Linked DNA regions of Homo sapiens: regions 1 and 2 are each linked to region 3. Evidence: promoter capture Hi-C in human tissues and cell types (Jung and others, 2019). All regions are on one chromosome and are shown on one strand. The core of a region is centred on a gene start or on the middle of the fragment in contact, and the rest is flanking DNA. Distances in the headings are between cores, read along the strand shown.

The links. Contacts are between HindIII fragments. The study calls those that stand out against the background at their distance.
Region 1: the fragment with the promoter of STAT3 here is called in contact with the fragment with the promoter of KCNH4 in region 3 in 2 of the 25 tissues and cell types used here (heart right ventricle and mesendoderm cells).
Region 2: a contact is called between a fragment that was not itself captured here and the fragment with the promoter of KCNH4 in region 3, in 3 of the 25 tissues and cell types used here (aorta, neural progenitor cells and spleen).

What each region holds. Positions count from the first base shown.
Region 1 is chr17:42,386,039-42,390,283 of GRCh38, reverse strand. It overlaps STAT3 (signal transducer and activator of transcription 3), which reads left to right and starts at 1,842. Exons shown (of 24, transcript NM_139276.3): 1 at 1,842-2,005. RefSeq lists an enhancer at 1,122-1,391 and silencers at 1,912-2,191, 2,422-2,501. The HindIII fragment of the contact is 15,490 bases long and covers 1-4,245 here.
Region 2 is chr17:42,337,837-42,342,269 of GRCh38, reverse strand. STAT3 (signal transducer and activator of transcription 3) reads left to right here. Exons shown (of 24, transcript NM_139276.3): 5 at 2,861-2,956; 6 at 3,458-3,539; 7 at 4,413-4,433. Among named protein-coding and RNA genes, the nearest start is that of STAT3, 48 kb to the left of the region's middle. RefSeq lists a silencer at 4,417-4,433. The HindIII fragment of the contact is 7,087 bases long and covers 1-4,433 here.
Region 3 is chr17:42,179,439-42,183,698 of GRCh38, reverse strand. KCNH4 (potassium voltage-gated channel subfamily H member 4) reads left to right here and starts at 2,557. Exons shown (of 17, transcript NM_012285.3): 1 at 2,557-2,829. The coding sequence starts at 2,754. RefSeq lists enhancers at 1-33, 3,597-4,164 and silencers at 2,126-2,401, 2,408-2,647. The HindIII fragment of the contact is 13,187 bases long and covers 1-4,260 here.

The sequences.
Region 1 (4,245 bases), core at 593-3,092, 210 kb before region 3:
GTTTTCTATCAGCGGATAATATGGCCTCTCCTATCTGCTATTCATGATTGTGAGAAAGAAACCAGGCAGGGAGTGTATAAGGTGTGTAAGTCCTTTGTAAGCAGTAAATCACTAAACAAATCCTAGACCCTATGTTATCAGGGAGGCAGTTGGCCGCACGGGATAGCGTAGTTACAAGAGACTATAGGCGGAGATGGGGGATATCTGTCCTGTGGTGTAGATAAACAGCCTAATCAATACACACACACTCTACAGGTAAATACAGCAATTTCCATACTGAGCTGTGTCTACCAGAGGGCAATAGGAGGTTCTCAATTCTCACCACCAGTGACCCTATGAATTGCCCTGTAGATGCCTCTGTCCCTCATTGGATATGAGGTGGTACGAGCGGTCTGAATCTGTAGACTTAGACAGGCTTCAGGTATCTGGGGAACCATGTGAGTAAAACCTTGTATTGTTTCTGGGGCTAGAATCTAGTCTCCTTCAAACACTCAGAAGGATCTGTGACTGCCTTCAAAGGTTAAGAGTCATTGATTTTTCTCACTAGAAATTAATAAGAACAGCTATCCTTGGGGAGAAGGAATGATGGGGGTAGGGAAAGATTTTCATTTAATATTTTTGACCTTTCTGAACGGTCTGCATTTTCTAAACAGGAACATGTATTAGGTTCATTGAAAAAAAATATGTCAGGGGTTAGCTGAGCAGTGAGATAATGGGTCCTTTTTAGATTTTTGTCTTTATACCTGTTCGTATTAAACAAACACAAATATTAATAACATATTTTTAAAGACCCAAAAAAATAAAAATTAAAAACCCTGATAGTATCAGCACATACACAGAAATCACTCCATTATGCAAAGTTCATCCTCTATTATGAAAGGCAAAATGTCTACATTTCCTATCAACCACTGGCTTCAATTCAGTAAAACTTGCATACCAAGTAGGCAAGGTGGAAAAGAAAAAGGCAGAACATTTCATGTATTTCAATTCAGACGCATAAAAATGTCAAGCCCTACACGTTATCAGCTTTCGTATACACCGTCTTCTGCATTCGCCTGTACGGGCCAATGGGCTAGCTGGTCGGCGTTTGATGCTTGAAGTGATGGAACGGAGTACGGGGTTAAATCCACTACCCTCTCCCCACGCACTCTAGTAATTACTCTATTTCCACGTCATGTTTCCGGGTGTGTGTGTCCCTGCTCACGCAGAAACTGAAGTTCAAAGCAGGCGGAGTCACCCATGTTCTTTTTGTTGTCCCCAGAACCCAATTCAGGAGTTGGGTCCCCAGAGGATCTGGAGATACCTGGGGACTATCTAACTAGCTGATTCCCGCGTGGTAAGAGGCTCTCAACCTCGCCACCACGTGGTGCCAAGGGCCGGGAAAAGGGAGAGCGGGCAGGAGGGAGCTGTATCAGGGGCATTTAAAGTGCCTTGACGTCACGCACTGCCAGGAACTCAGCTGAGTTTTCAGCAGGACATTCCGGTCATCTTCCCTCCCTCCCCCCGGGCTTCTGTGCCCAAGTCCTCGGCTCTTCCCTCGCTGTGGCGGAGGGAGGAGCACCGAACTGTCGGAACAGCCAGCACAGGGGCGTATCAGTCTCCTCTTGGCTCCGCCCTTTCTCCTAGCTGCTCTCCTCATTGGTCAGTGGGCGGGGCTTCGGCTGTACCGCACACGCACTGGGACCTCTGGGTGGCCGAACGAGCTGGCCTTTCATGAATTATGCATGACGGCGTGCCTCGGCCAGGCTGGGGCTGGGCGAGGATTGGCTGAAGGGGCTGTAATTCAGCGGTTTCCGGAGCTGCGGCGGCGCAGACTGGGAGGGGGAGCCGGGGGTTCCGACGTCGCAGCCGAGGGAACAAGCCCCAACCGGATCCTGGACAGGCACCCCGGCTTGGCGCTGTCTCTCCCCCTCGGCTCGGAGAGGCCCTTCGGCCTGAGGGAGCCTCGCCGCCCGTCCCCGGCACACGCGCAGCCCCGGCCTCTCGGCCTCTGCCGGAGAAACAGGTGAAGGGGGTGCAGGGTGGGGCCGTTGGGGAGGCCTGGGGACCCGGGGGCTCCGCAGCGGCAGGGGGCCTCTGGGACCTTGGGGATGTTGTGATGGACGCTGCAGTGGGGCCGGGAGAGATGAAGAGACGCGGAGGGTCGCCCTGAGGGAAGACTCTTCGGGATGACAGGAGCGGGCCTCGGAAGGGACTCGGGGCGCTGGAGGGAAGTTTCGTTCTTCGGAGAAACAGAACGCGCTCGAGGGGGCACCGTGGGGCGAGGGCGCACTCGGTTGCGGCGGCAGGAGTGAGGGACAGTCCCCCGATTTCCTGCTCCCTGGGGCCCTGGGGACGTTCCGGCCACCGGAGCGACTGTCACGCCGACGGGGATCACCGGCGCGAGTGGGGGGTCGGAAAGCGCCTCCTCCCCGCCCGGTCGGCGGCTCCCGCTGAGCCACTTCCTCCGCTTGCCCTGTTCCCGCTCCTTCAGGAGACAGCTGTGCCCTTTTGGAGGCAGGAATAGGTGTGTCTGTCGCCTGCAGCCTTACGGGCTGGCTGGTCGTGGGTAGGCTTTATTGCATAAGAATCAAGTTTCCTGTAGGGAAATTGACAGACCGGTACTCTTTCTAAATTCCCTCGCATCTTTTTCTAGGTTAAATTATGCTCCCCCCACGTCCCCGCCTTGTAAAAAAGAGAAAAAAAGACAAAATAAAATCCCCATCAACCCGTCAAGCCAGCTCTAGAGAGAGAAATAAACCTCTTGACATTGTCCTTTTCCAAATACCTGGTAAAGTCGGCCAGAAGATAAATAATTGAGCCATTGCATTTACTGGATTGTGGTGTTGCTTAATTGCATAGGACGGAATGAACCAATTGAGAGTGGGAGTTTTCTGTCTCAGAGCCAAGATCTTGGGTAAATGCAGAGGAGAGGGAAACAAAGACAGGCTGGCCTTGAAAAAACCATGTGTGCAAACTTTACATGCATTTGGGGGGTGTGGTTGCACTGAAGTTAACAAGATTCAAACCGTCGCCCAAGTTGGTATTTCCATGTTTGGTACACATCACTCTGTGCCATATCAGGTCGTTGTTAAGTGTGGTGACAAAATCAGTGGTTAGTCATTTTTTTAATTAAAAATGTGTATAGTGTGTACCTGCTGGTCTTACTGTATGTGCAACTAAAGGTTTACATAGTCTGTGTATGGGTTGTAAATTTTTGGCTGGCTGTGCTGATAAAGCATTGGGCTTGAATAAAGCAAAGCAGAAAATCATCTCAATCTTTTATATGTGGATTTAGACTGTGTTATGACTTGGTTCAGCCAGTTTTCTATCTTATTTTATATTAAATATGTCTGTGTTCTCTGAGTCAGCACATTTATTTCCTTATTACATGTTCCAGACAGGAGTGCTAGCCCAGTTTTTGTTCAGTTTGCACAGTGGGATGGGGAAACAAGTCTGGAATTTAAAAAAAAATGTTTTAGAGGTTGGAGCCTTGATTTTAGTCTCTATATTAGCACATCCATCACAAAGAACCATTAGTAAATTCATGAATCTTTTGTTTTTTATGTAGTTCATTTGAGAAGAATAATCACTTAGAAATATCCACAGTGCCAGGCATGGTGGTGCACACCTCTGATCCCAGCTAATTGAAGGCTGAGGTGGGAGGATTCCTTGAGTCCAGGAGTTGAGTCTGGTCTGGGCAACATGGTGAGAGGCCAGGAATTGGGTCTAGAGTCTAGTCTAAGCACCATAATGAGAACCCATCTTTAAGAAAGAAAGAAAGGAAAGGAGGAAGAAAGGAAAGAAAAAGAAATACCCACAGCACAGTTATGAATTAACCCACAAAGGACTTGTGAGGTGGGTAGTTCACATAACAATTACCCTAATATCGTAGATAAGAAAATTGAGGCCAAAGGATCAAGACACTTGGCCAACGCAGCAGAGTGCCATAGTGGTGGAATTTGTGCCTCCTTCTGTATATTTTGTGAAAAGTATCAGTGAAATTCTTTTTTTTTTTTTTTTTGAGTCAGAGTCTTGCTCTGTTGCCCAGGCTAGAGTGCAGTGGCGCAATCTTGGCTCACTGCAACCTCTGCCTCCTGGGTTCAAGCGATTCTCCTGCCTCAGCCTCCCAAGTAGCTGGGACTACAGGCGTGCGCCACCACGCCCAGCTAATTTTTGTATTTTTAGTAGAGACCGGGGTTTTACCATATTGGCCAGGCTGGTCTTGAACTCCTGACCTTGTGATTTGCCCACCTCTATCTCCCA
Region 2 (4,433 bases), core at 1,934-4,433, 160 kb before region 3:
CTCAGGTGATCCATCCACCTCGGCCTCCCAAAGTGCTGGGATTACAGGCATAAGCCACTGTGTCCGGCCCTAGTGAGGAATTTTAAGCAGAAAACTGATATGCTCAGGTGTGAGCGAGGTGGTAGGTAACACTTACTGTGCAGTGCCCTGTAGCCCAAGAGGTTAGCACACAGGCATTTGCTCAGGCAGCACTAGGATTTTCTGCTGTGGAAAACCTTTGTATTTTATCCTGCTCCACAAGATAAAAATAAGTGGTTTAAGTCAATTTGGATAGAGGCTCCAACTTACCATGGGAGGTAGGAAAGCCAAAGTTATCCCAAGGATGTTTTCAATCGTACGGATTAGGGGTCTGCAAACTGTGAGCGTGGCCCAAATCCAGCCTGCTGCTTGTTTTTGTAAATGAGGTTTTTTCGGAACCCAGCCACACTCATTTATTTATGCATTATCTGTGGCTGCTTTGGTGCTGCAGTGGCAGGGCTATTTGTGGCAGGGACTGTATGACCCAGGAAACCAAAAATATTTACCCTCTGTCCCTTAGAGAAAAAGTTTGCAACCCCTGATATAAAGCTATAAGTTGGTTATTTGTGGCCTCAACCCAGGCCTCACTGCTATTTTTTCTGTTTACAATACCTGGCATGCTCTTAAGTGTCTAGAATTGGTTAAAGATAGAAGAGTGGATGTAATCCCTGCTACCAAGGGCTGTCAGGCTAGTTGGGATTATAAGTACACAAACACTCAAAGTGAGAAAAACACAGAAAAGGATGTGTGTCATTTTGTCTAAGGAAGTTGAATAAGATTTCTCAGGAAAAGAAACATTTGAACTGAATTTGAAGGTGAGTGAGTTCAGGTGTGTTTGGGCTGAAGCCCAGGCCATGCTGAGTGGATAGCGGGTGGGAAGAGAGTGTGGAAACACACTGCATGCAGGGAAGAGTTGGGAGTCTGGGGTGACCAAGGCACAGGGAGGGAAAGTTGAAGTTATCAATTGTGTGAAACAGCTTTCTGTGTTGGCCTGAGATGTTTATAGCTGGAAGCAGTGGGGAGCCAATACAGTTTTTTACGAAGGTATTAGAGGTGGGTTTCTGTGGGTGATCGTTAATCATGTTTTCTCCCTTTAAGTGTAGTCCTGCTTGAGAAATAGACATGAGAAAGGAATGAAGGTTAAAACATCAGCTGTATTGTTGGTAAAACTAGAATGGAAAGTGTGGCTTGAGCTGGTAACCATAGGGGCTTTCCAATGCCTGTGCCCTGAGTTAGATCTTGGGGTAGAGAGACTGGATGTGCAGAGCAGCACCCCCACCCCACCCCAGCCATCCATATGGAGCTTCAGCTGCCATAGACCAACAAGGCAGAGGGATAGGCCTCTAGACCTGCTTCTAGAAACCAGGCTGCTGCTCTTGCTTATGGTGGGCCCTAGGAAGGCAAGAGTGAGAGGAGGGAGGCACCAGCTTAGGTGCTGGGTTCTTTGAAGATCTGTGTGTACACAGAGTCTTTCTCTCCATCTTACCAATCAGATGAGTCACTGTCACTGTGGGAAGAAGTAGGGGCATGGGTCACCTTCCCAAAACTTCTAAGAAGTTTGTATTCTGTGGGCTTGGATAGGGACCATGGGAAAGGAAGAGAATGGTTGCCCATAAAACTGGCTGTAGTGTGGCCTCAAACTTCTGGACTTAAATGATCCTCCCACCTCAGCCTCCCAAGTAGCTAGAACTACAGGTATATGCCACCATGCCCAGCTAGTTAAAAAAAAATTTTTTTTTTTTTTTGGTTGAGATGAGGTCTCTTTCTATGTTCCCTGGGCCGGTCTCAAACTCCCAGCCTCAAGTGATCCTCCTGCCTTGGTTTCCCAAAGTGCTAGGATTATAGGTGGGAGCTACCATGCCTAGCCCAAGCCTGTAATTTTTTTTTTTTTTTTTTGAGATGGAGTTTCACTTTTGTTGCTCAGGCTGGAGTGCATGGCGCAGTCTTGGCTCACCACAACCTCCACCTCCCGGGTTCAGGCGATTCTCCTTCCTCAGCCTCCCGAGTAGCTGGGATTACAGGCATGCACCACCAAGCTCAGCTAACTTTGTATTTTTAGTAGAGATGGGTTTCTCCGTGTCGGTCAGGCTGGTCTCAAACTCCTGACCTCAGGTAATCTGCCCACCTTGGCCTCCCAAAGTGCTGGGATTACAGGCATCAGCCACCGCACCTGGCACGAACCTGTAATTTTTAAGTTTCATATGCTATTTATTTTTTGTTATTTCTTTAATTCATTCATTCATTTATTCATTCGAGATGGGGCCTCACTATGTTGACTAGGCTAGTTTTGAACTCCTGGCCTCAAGCAGTCCTCCCACTTCAGCCTTCCCAAGTGCTGATATTATAGGTGTGAGCTGCTACATCCAGCCTTCTTTCTTCTTTTTCTTTTTCCATGTGCTATTTGACATTTTCCAAGGTACCAGCCTCCCCTTCTCCCCAAGATAATATCTTTTAATATGGAATTTCATCCCTAGGGCAGGACTTTTTTTTTATTATCCCTCAGAAATATACTGGACACCACGTTTAAGTAGACATCCAACATCTGCTGTCATAAATTGTTTTGAATTTTTTGACATACTTGCCCATGAGGTTTTTGAAGGCATAGACCATGTCTTAGCTGAACATGTGGTCTCTTAGTGCCATAAAGGGGGTTTATGGTATGACCTGTGTAGTGTCACCTGTGTAGTGACAGCACCACTGCCTCTGTTTCCCTTCCTCTTGTGATGGCAGCAGCGTCTCAAGCCAAACAAGAAGGGTAGTTAGGGTGGGATGGAAGCTGGGTAGAGGTATTCCTCTCCCCATAGTTCTGTGTTCACATGTGCATTGACCTCCTTTTTGGCAGCAAGGGGGCCAGGCCAACCACCCCACAGCAGCCGTGGTGACGGAGAAGCAGCAGATGCTGGAGCAGCACCTTCAGGATGTCCGGAAGAGAGTGCAGGTGATGCAAGTTACAAGCCTCGGGCAGGGAGCTTTCATTAATTTTTTTTTTTTTTTTTGAGACAGGGTCTTGCTCTGCCACTCAGGCTGGGCTGCAGTGGCATGATCACAGCTCACTGCAGCCTCGACCTCTCAGGCCCAAGCGATCCTCCTACCTCATCCTCCCAAGTAGCCGGGACCACAGGCATGCACCACCACGCCCAGCTAATTAAAAAAAAAAAATTTGTAGAGATGGGGGTCTCCCTGTGTTGTCCAGGCTGATCATGAACTCCTGGGCTCAAGTGATCCTCCCAACTCAGCCTCTCAAAGTGCTGGCATTACAGGCGTGAGCCACTGCACCTGGCCAACAGGGAGCCTTCTCTTGGGGATACTGCCTGCAGGTCCTGCATGTATCTTTTTTGAGGTTTTGGCTTCATTTGAATTCTCCTCAGAAACTTTATATTTTCTGTTCCCAAGGAAATCTTTCTTTACTTCTGTTTTTTTGTTTGCTTATTTTAAACAGGATCTAGAACAGAAAATGAAAGTGGTAGAGAATCTCCAGGATGACTTTGATTTCAACTATAAAACCCTCAAGAGTCAAGGAGGCAAGTGAATATTAGAGATGTTAAAATCTCTAGAAAGTGAGTTTGTGTTGTTGAGTTGAAAGACTCATTTGTCTTAACTCTGTTTAGATCTTAAGGCGGGCGGGGCGCAAGGGAGGTACGGGTCCTCAAAGGAGCCTGGTCATTAAGGACAGGAGTATTCCCTCAGGTCCAGGAGTATTCCCTCAGGTCCAGGAGTATTCCCTCAGGTCAAGGAGTATTCCCTCAGGTCAAGGAGTATTCCCTCAGGTCCAGGAGTATTCCCTCAGGTCCAGGAGTATTCCCTCAGGTCCAGGAGTATTCCCTCAGGTCCAGGAGTATTCCCTCAGGTCCAGGAGTATTCCCTCAGGTCAAGGAGTATTCCCTCAGGTCCAGGAGTATTCCCTCAGGTCCAGGAGTATTCCCTCAGGTCCAGGAGTATTCCCTCAGGTCCAGGAGTATTCCCTCAGGTCCAGGAGTATTCCCTCAGGTCAAGGAGTATTCCCTCAGGTCCAGGAGTATTCCCTCAGGTCCAGGAGTATTCCCTCAGGTCCAGGAGTATTCCCTCAGGTCAAGGAGTATTCCCTCAGGTCCAGGAGTATTCCCTCAGGTCCAGGAGTATTCCCTCAGGTCCAGGAGTATTCCCTCAGGTCCAGGAGTATTCCCTCAGGTCCAGGAGTATTCCCTCAGGTCCAGGAGTATTCCCTCAGGTCCAGGAGTATTCCCTCAGGTCCAGGAGTATTCCCTCAGGTCAAGGAGTATTCCCTCAGGTCCAGGAGTATTCCCTCAGGTCCAGGAGTATTCCCTCAGGTCCAGGAGTATTCCCTCAGGTCAAGGAGTATTCCCTCAGGTCAAGGAGTATTCCCTCAGGTCAAGGAGTTTTTTCTTCCTTCGCAGACATGCAAGATCTGAATGGAA
Region 3 (4,260 bases), core at 1,308-3,807:
AGGATCCCTTGAAGCAAGGAGTTCGAGACGAGCCTAGGCAACATAGTGAGTGAGACATCTCTCCAAAAAGTTTTTTTAATTAGCGGGGTATGGTGGGCGAGAGGATTGCTTGAGCCCAGGAGTTTGAGTTTGAGCCATAATTGGGCCACTGCACTCCAGCCTGGGCAACAGAAGGAGGCACTGTCAAAAAAAAAAAAAAAAGAAAGAAAAAGAAAAAAGAAAAGAAAGAAAGGAAAGAAAGGAAGGAAGGAAGGAAGGAAGGAAGGAAGGAAGGAAGGAAGGAAGGCAGGCAAGCTGCATAGAGCAGCAGAATCCAGCTAGGAAGGGGTGGGAGTCAATCCTGCTGAAAAGGCAGGGAATTTGAACTTCAACAATGAGTCATCCAGAATGGCTGCATCATGGGGTATAGGGTGTGGGGAGTGGAGAGGCTCAGGAAGGGACACAGTTACAGTCAGTGCAGCACAGCTCGCAAAGGCTCTCACAAATCATCGGGCTTTGCACTTTATCTTGTAGGTAACAGAGTCATGGGACATTCTTAAGCAGGGGCAGTACAAGATTTTACTGCAACTCCAGCCAAAGACACCTGTTACTGGTGTTCCCAAAATCCATATGTTGAAGTCCGTACCCGTGGCACTTCAGAATGTGGCTGTATTTGGAAATAAGGTCCTTCCAGATGCAATTAGTTAAGATGAGGTCATACTAGAGTAGGGTGGGCCTCTAATCCACTGTGACTGGCGTCCTTATAAAAAAGGGAATTGGAACACAGAAACACACACAGGGAGAACCCATGTGAACATGAAGGTAGAGATTGGCTCCTACAAGCCAAGGAACACCAAAAATTGCCAGCACCCCCACCCCCAGAAGATAGGGGAGAGGCATGCAACAGATTCTCCCTCATAGCCTTCAGAAGGAACCAACGCTCTTCACCTGACCTTGCTTGGACTTCTAGCATCCAGAACTGTGAGACAATAGGTTTCTGTTGTTTGAGCCACTCACTTTGTGGTACTTTGTTATGGCAGTCCTAGGAAACTAATATAACATCCAAAAGTAGAGACACAGGCTAGGCTCCGTGGCTCATGCCTGTAATCCCAGCACTTTGGGAGGCTGAGGCGGGCGGATCACTTGAGGTCAGGAGTTCAAGACCAGCCTGGCAAACATGGCGAAACCCCATCTCTACTAAAAATACAAAAATTAGCCGGGCATTGTAATGCACGCCTGTGATCCCAGCTACTAAGGAGGCTGAGGCGGGAGAATTGCTTGAACCCAGGAGGCAGAGGTTGCAGTGAGCTGAGGTCATGCCACTGCACTCCAGCCTGGGCAACAGAGCAAGACTCCGTCTCAAAAACAACAAGAACAAGAACAACAAGAACAACAACAACAACAAAAGTAGAGACACAGAAAAATGTGGCACTTCTTAGCAATCTAACATCCCAGATAATACCTAGCTCAGAGGGTGGGGAGAATTTAGCCTGCCCTCCTTGCCCATAGGGTTCCCACTTTCACTGCTTCAGCTGTTTTGTCGTGGGAAGCAGCCACCCTCAGCCACAGAACTCAGCTGCCTCAATTTTCTGCATAGGTAGTGAGAAAGTCCTGTGTCTAGTCTCACTTTGGTCCCTCTTGCTGCTGTACTGGTTCCATCTTGGAGAAGTTAGAGGTCAAAGTTCACATGTGCATCCTTGGAGATTTGCAAGCCATGACTCTGCCCACCTCGAAACTATCTTTTTCAGAGGTAGTTTCTCCCAAACTTGCCTCCAGCCTCTCTTCCACTTGAAGGGCAGCAGAGAGGAGGATTAAGACAGTAGGAAGAGGGAAAACAGGCAGGCAACTGCCCTTCAAGACACTTATTTTGTACCAAAGACATGCATTATGGTATTACATTCTCACGGTAACTGCATCAGGTAAGAATTATCAGCTCCATTTTACAGATGAGGAAAGTGGGCTTGGAGAGGATATCACACGATTGGTGTCTAGAGCTGGGACTCTACCTGGTGGACTCCAAAGCTCTTTTCATTCCACCATGCTGTGTCTCAGTAGGCAGAGTTCGCCAGGGTGTCTTGGGAAAACTGAGGCAGGAGGTAAGAATGGTGCTTTCTAGAGTTGGGGTTTCAAGCCTTCCCATTGTCCATTCTCTACCAGCAAACTAGCCTCTTAACCCTTGCTGTCTCACGCTGGAGCTACTGGCCTGTGGGTGCTGCGAAATATGTCAACTCCAGTAGGCGGCACTGTGAACCAGACACCAGCCCAGCGTGGACGCCGCGCGGGAAAACCCGCGAGGTGGAGCCACAAGGAGCAGCCAGGGAACCACGTGTGGAGGCGTGGCCAGCCTGGAAGAGGGCGGGTCTGTTATTCAAGCCCCGCCCATCATTTCAGGCCTCCCCTCCCGGTGGGCGTGCCCCGAATTCTCTCCCCGAGAGACACGCGTGGGCCGCTCCCCTCTGGGAGGAGGGCTGCCCAGAGGGGTGCGGGTGTCGCTAGCGGCCCCTCCCCGTGTGGGGCCACGTGGCGGGTGCGGGCCGAGCCCGAGGGGAAGAACCTGGCCCGTGGGGAGGTGGGGGGGACCGAAACGGCGCTGAGCCGAGCCGAGAGCTACGGGGTTCGGAGCAGAGGCAGCGGCAGCGGCAGCGGCAGTAAGAGGGAGGGGAGGAGGCAGGAGGGCGCATGGGGCGCCCCGGCCCCTCCGACAGCGCGCCCCCTCCGGCCCGGCCGCGCTGAAAGCTCCCCAGCGCCGCGCCTTGAACCCACGCCCCGGGGCCATGCCGGTCATGAAGGGGTTGCTGGCCCCGCAAAACACCTTCCTGGACACCATCGCCACCCGTTTTGACGGAACGCGTGAGTGGGACGGAGGTCGGGGCTTGAGGTTCGAGCTGGGGGGCAAGTATCCTCGGGGCCGTCTCGGATCTCCTGGACATGGTGAGACCCGAGGCGAGGGGAGAGAATGGAGGTGCGGGTCTAGGAACTCCCAAAGCCGCGGTGCAGGAACAGGGCGGGGAGTGCCCTGCGAGGGGAGGAGGGGAAAGGGCCGAGAGCACGGGGGCCAAGGTTAGGGGGTGTGACTCGAGGCAGAAGAGGCTCTTTGTGCGGCAGAGCGGAGGAGGGTCCTTCGGAGCCGCCCACTCTCGGGCAGAGCTGTGCTGGGGGCGTGTATGGGGGTATCCGAGACACAGAAGTGGGGCAAAGTGGCCGGGCATTCTGGGGTCTACTCACAGACTCCAGCTCCCACTACCTCCAGAAAAAAAGGAGAAAAGATCAGACTTCAGCAGGACCTAGTTTGGATTGAGGTCGCGCGCCCCCAAATCGTGGGGCGTCAGTGTCTAAGGTGGGTGAGGCAGGAGGAGGGGAGCGGTCTGTGCGACGGTGGGAACTCCCAGCTCGCCCAACGTAGCTTGGGTTTCAGGTTCAGCACCTTGGACAGCCACATCACTCCTCCCCCGCCTCTTCTCCCGCCATTCCCTCTTCCCACTCTGGAACCCAGAGATTCCCCGCCCTCACCTCCCCCAACCCCGCCATTCCCTCGGGAACCCTGGCCGGGATCTGGATGGTGGGGGAGCGGTACCCGAGGGCGGAAACTGAGCCGCCGGGCCCTACCCTCTTCCCCACCACCTTGTTTCCATAGCGCCCATCACCGGGGCAACAGGCCCTGGGATGGAAGAAGGAGGCTGTGCCCAGAGCCCAGTGCCTCCCAGGCACCTTCAGTGTCCCCATCAGCCTCCCTGCCCCCAGACAGTCATCCCTCCTAGAGCACCAGGACTGGTTGTGTCACAGGCCCCATCTCTTAGCTGAGTCTCTGTCCCTGGATGGCCCACAGGAGTCCCCCTGGCCTCCCACCCATTGGAGCTGGAGGGAGACAGCTCGGGTTCTGCTGCTGGGGGTTGCTGGAGCTATACGCTCAATGCCCTCTCCCATTAGACTTTGAGCAGTGGGGCAGATCCCCTGAAAGCAGCTACAAGAATGCTAAAAAGTGGACCTTCTCTGGAAGGCAGGGAAGGAAGACAGCACTCATCACTGTCTGCCCCCACACTAAGGAGATCTGTGAGTTTGGATAATCTCTGCCTTTTGGTTTCCTATCAATAAATGGGTGTGGTGTCATCAGAATCTCTGCCCTGCTTACTCTGTAATAGGAAGAAAGCCAAGTGAATGTGGGGAAAAAATTTCACCTTCTCAGAGTAGCACTTACCATGTGCTAGGACTTGTTCTCCCCAAGTTAACTCATGTAACTCTCACAACGACCATGTGAGGAAGGCCTATTATGCCCTACTTTGC